Linked DNA regions of Homo sapiens: region 2 is linked to region 1. The links are contacts of gene promoters, found by promoter capture Hi-C in blood cells and fetal thymus (Javierre and others, 2016). All regions are on one chromosome and are shown on one strand. Each heading gives the region's core, a stretch centred on a gene start or on the middle of the fragment in contact. The rest is flanking DNA. Distances are from core to core; before and after follow the strand shown.

Evidence for each region. Contacts are between HindIII fragments. The CHiCAGO score rates a contact against its expected background, and 5 or more counts as called.
Region 2: a fragment that was not itself captured here is called in contact with the fragment with the promoter of LINC00572 in region 1 in 5 of 17 cell types (non-activated CD4 T cells, total CD8 T cells, total CD4 T cells and 2 more); the score reaches 6.0 in non-activated CD4 T cells.

What each region holds. Positions count from the first base shown.
Region 1 is chr13:29,925,385-29,927,913 of GRCh38, forward strand. It overlaps LINC00572 (long intergenic non-protein coding RNA 572), which reads right to left and starts at 1,267. Exons shown (of 2, transcript NR_047501.1): 1 at 1,119-1,267. The HindIII fragment of the contact is 2,077 bases long and covers 407-2,483 here.
Region 2 is chr13:30,096,672-30,099,200 of GRCh38, forward strand. No RefSeq gene overlaps it. Among named protein-coding and RNA genes, the nearest start is that of LINC00365, 11 kb to the right of the region's middle. The HindIII fragment of the contact is 400 bases long and covers 1,065-1,464 here.

The sequences.
Region 1 (2,529 bases), core at 17-2,516:
GCTAGGGCTTACTCTTCTCTCATTAAAAAACCCTATTTATTCCACCAAAGTAGGTAGAGTTCTCCCTCTCCTCTTTGGATTCTCTACTATATTCCTTAGTAACGTCATGAGGCTTTCTCAGGACTAAGCCTGCAAGTTGTCTATTAAGCCAGCTTTCCAGTGGGGACTGCCTAATATTGACCAAATACTTTAGAGAGTCATATCATCTGTGAGCTGGCAGAGATCCAGAACTCCAGTCTAGCACTCACATTTTACAGACAAGGAAGCCAGTGCCAGGGCCTTAGCCTGGTTTCACAACTCTTTCTCTGGTTCTCTTGGTGACTGACAACAAAACGACGCCTCCCTATTCTGGTGTGGCTTGGGCTTCTGGCTGCTGGCACAGGAATAGCCAAAATCCTTCCTTTCAAGCTTTCTGTGTAATGGAAACCCTGCTTGACTAATTAGGGCCCACCTCTCTCAAACTCCTGAATCACTGGCATTCATTAAATATAGAAAAGCATTTTATCCCCCTAATGAAGGAGAACTGGAATAACATAGATGAGTCACACACACTGAAAACTGTCATGATATTCAAGAAAGGTGACCTTCTCTCACACCTGCAGACCTGGGAGGGTGGATTGAAATCTACATCCAGTTTTCTCCTTGGGCTCTGACTGGCAGGAGGGTTTGTTGCTTGTTTTTTTTTCTTTTTTCTCCAGTTCCTTGTAGTAGGATGGAGATGTGGGTTCTGTTTTATGAGGTGTGGATTGCGTGGGCTGATGGCGTGGAGGAGGAGACTAGAAGAAAAGCAATACACACACACACACAGAAACACACACATACCGCCCCCACACACATTAATGCATACACACAAACCCCACAAAAACACACATGCAGAGATACACATGCACACACTCATACCACACACACAGACACAAACACAACCATACACTCACAACACACAAATGCACATATCAACACACACATAGACACTCTCACGCACATGCAAACACTCAGACACATACACCCACTCACACTACACACAAACACAAATAAATATGTACTCACATTCTCTCTCACACACACTCTCTCACACACACACTCACACACACACACATACACCTTTGGTTGCCACAGACCTTGGTGTTTGTTCCCACTGGCTGGCTCAGCAGAAAATGTGGCTGAGTTGTAAGACTCTGTTTTGAATGTGGGAGTTGGAAAGAGCAAAGATATTCTTCAGGTTCAGGAAGGCACCGGCCAACAGGAGCCGAAGGAGGAAGAGAGAAGAGATGATTTTCTTCCCTAAGAATAACTTTTGAAGGTGGAGCTGAATTTCACCTGTTCACCTTGGTGATGTCACTTTACCCCACTGTTTCTCAACGTGCAGTGCCTCTGATGAACCTGATGCCAGGCCTGTGAGGTACACCTTTAGCCACTTCTATGATGCCAGTTTTTGTTGACAACACATGTTCTGAATGCACCATGGCTGGCTGACTTTGACTGGGCAGATAGCACAAATCTCCAGTCTGAAAGTCATCATAATACTTGGAATGTTTAGAAAAGTCATAACTTAGGGGTGGTTCGTAACTTCTTAGAATTGTGCTTCCCTCAAATTATATATAAGCAGAAGAGAGCAGCTTTGGATGATGGGAGTAATTCAGGAGTAACCAGGGATCCCTAGATCTGGAAGAAGGAAGTAAAGTTAGTGCTTTCTTCAAAGGTTTCAATATTTCCTTATATTTTAGTGCAGCTTAAATCCAAAATCATAACTAAGGATATCTTTGCTATGGGAAATAGCTTGTTAAATGGATGCTGTTGGCCAATTTAAAAAGAATGACATGAAATGATTCCACAAGCTGCAGATCTACAGATGGGAATTAGATTGGGTATTCTGATTTAAGGAAACAAATTTGAGAGAAAAAGAATTCCATTTTATTGCAAAATTAGAGTTGAATAAATCAGGTAGGTAATGAAAGATTCAGGGAAAGATGATACTTCTAAAAACAAAGTTCTACAATCTCCAACCCAGATTTCACAAGCCCCCAGGATTGTTTCAATTTTGTCAGTGGGCTTAAAGAACTTATCCAAAAATTCTTAAAATAACATTAAATCCTTTAAAGTATTTTGTAAGATGTAAGAGTGCCATTGTAAAAAAGAGAATAGGGATTATTATGACATCCAACTAATTATGGGATACTGCAAGCACCAGAAGTGTAGTCATTGCTGAATTAGTTTCTGAACTTCCAACTCAGAACAGATCTGGATTTGCTCTACAGGGTGTGCATCTCTTATCAGATTTGGAATATATATATATATATATATATATATATATATATATATATATATTGGATTTTGGAATATTTGCATATACATAATGAGGTATCTTGGTGGTGGGACCCAAGTCTGAACAAACACGAAATTCATTTATGTTTCATATACATCTTATGCACATGGCCTGGAGGTAATTTTATACAATATTTTAAATGAGTTTGTGCCTGAAACAAAGCTTTGACTGTGTTTTAGCTGCCATCTGTCACCTAAGGCCAGGTG
Region 2 (2,529 bases), core at 15-2,514, 170 kb after region 1:
TGCCCCATTGATGGAGGGCATGGCTGAGAGCCCCAACCGTCTAATCCTGCCTTGCTCTTTCTAGTGATCAGCCCCATCCTGAGGCTACCTGGGGACCCCAGCCACCAGTCATCTCACTAGCATACAAAAATACACTCTTACCACTCCAGAGATTCTAAGGTTTTTAGCAATTATATTTCAGAAAATGGGAGATGAAGACCAAACATATATTTCAGAATATCACAGGTGCCTTCCAAGTCCCAAGGCTCCAGCCAATGAGGCTATTTACAGGTGAGGATTGGGCCTCCCTGCAAAGGGGTCAAGGTACTCACGGGCTACTGGATAAGTGCCCACTTGCCCCCCAAGGGCTCCTGACTTCCTCCTGTGAACATAAATCTACTCTTGTCTAATGATAAGGGAATCATGCATAAATGTGCATTGGGTAACATGGGGCCGTAGGTGAACACTGGACTGACATTCATGAGCCCCAGGCTTGGTTGTTGTTTTATCAATAATAAACTGGGTCACTTTGGGAGGGTCCCACAGTGTCCCTGAAGCCCCTTTCTTCACTATAAAGTAACAGTCATATAACATAAATATGAGTATATGACCATAAAGTAACAGTCATTCCTTCACTATAAAGTAACAGTCATATAACATAAATATGAGTATATGACTATAAAGTTAACAGTCATATAACCAAATTCGTATCCGGCGAATTTGAAACTGACTCCATCATTTGCTGTAACTTTGAACTAGTTACAACTTCTTTTTTTTTTTTTTTTCTGAGATGGAGTTTCTTTCTGATTGTCCAAGCTTGAGTGCAATGGCACGATCTCGGCTCACTGCAACCTCAGCCTCCTGGGTTCAAGCGATTCTCCTGCCTCAGCCTCCTGAGTAGCTGGGATTACAGGAGCGCACCACCACACCCAGCCAATTTTTTGTATTTTTAGTAGCAATGAGGTTTCACCATGTTACCTGTGGCTGAACTCCTGACCTCAGGTTATCTGCCCGCCTCAGCCTCCCAAAGTGCTAGGACTACAGGTGTGAGCCACCGCGCCTGGCCTATATCTTTAACCTCCCAAAGCTTCCATTTTTCTTACATGTAAAGTAGGTGTGATCATAATCCTGACTTTGTAAGGTTTAGAAATAACTTATATAAATCATTAGCATTGGGCTATCCATGAAACAGGCACTTAAATAGCAGAAATTGTCATCACTTCCAGTTGTATGAGTCTTAGCCTTGTGACAAAATTGTGAAACAGGGCACTGCTATCACTTTTAGACTCAAGGATCACAGATGCCTTGCTCAGTGGGGCTGGAGAAGCAAACCAGTGATAAATTTGGTGCTGAGCTCGTGCAGCAAGACCCAGACCCCGTGCTGCTGTCCAGACCAACGTCCCCTCCTGAAGAAGTGAGTTTTAAAAAGACATCCAGGTTGGAGCCATAATTAGAAATGACTGAGAGCCTTAAGCGAAAACAGCAAGCTTTTACTAATCAATAACAGTCATTTCTTTCAGAGAGAAAAGACAGATTTCAAAAGACATTGGAATTGGAAATGCATCCAGGATCCTCGGCCTGAGTGCTGAGAAGGTGTGGAAGTGTAGCCTAACATTCCGAACTGGAAGCCGTCCCTCACTGCCAAGCAAGGTCACCACCAGGCAACTCCTCCCAACCTCCAACAATCCCCTCATTGGGAACCCTTAGCCTCTGCCCAGACACCCCAGGCCCAGTTTTCTCAAGAGACTTCTGGCATTTCGAAAGCAAACCATCTTTCACTTTTCTCTTCTGGATGAAAACTCTGATTTTTTAAAAAAGCTCCTTTTAAAGAGATTTCCATTGTGAACATCCTTACACCTGCACAAATGCACTCATCTGGCCAGTTGCTGTTCAGAATAACAGTGCCAGAGACAACACTCACCTACACTCCTCCACCTCTTGTCCTGTCTCCCTCCTCCCCCGACATTAGGTTGGGGCTGCATGACTAGTGTGGCCAAAGAAATCTGAGCAGCAGCTTCGGGCTTCCACCCAGGCTGAGGTCATTAAGAGCTAGTGTGGCTTCTCCATCTCTTTCTTTCCCTGTCCTGGAGGCCTCCATCTCTCTCATCCTCTACAGAGGAGTAGCTGCAAGAAAGCAGAGAGCCACCGAACCCACATCAGGCTTTGAGAGTGAGATCTAAACCTGAGACTTGAAGGTTTGTCTACTGTGGCCGCTACCATTAGTACCCGAACTAATAATGTAGGGTCAGTTTTCAGACAGCCCCTTTCACATTCTCAGAAGCAGATGCAATTTTCTATCCCATGCTCACGTCTCAAGCTTGTATGGAGCCTCCACTGTGTGCCAGGCACTACTGGGATGGGGATTAAGAAGGTGAGTAAATCCCTCCCCGGCCTTCCCTAAAGGATTGTGCCATCTATTAGGGCAAGACAGACACATAATGAGCTCACACTCCCGGACAGATCTGTCTCGATGGTGTGGGCAAAGTAATGATCTCTGAAGAACTGTCTCCCGGCTCTCGTTTCAGCAAATCCAGAGTAATCACGGGCGCT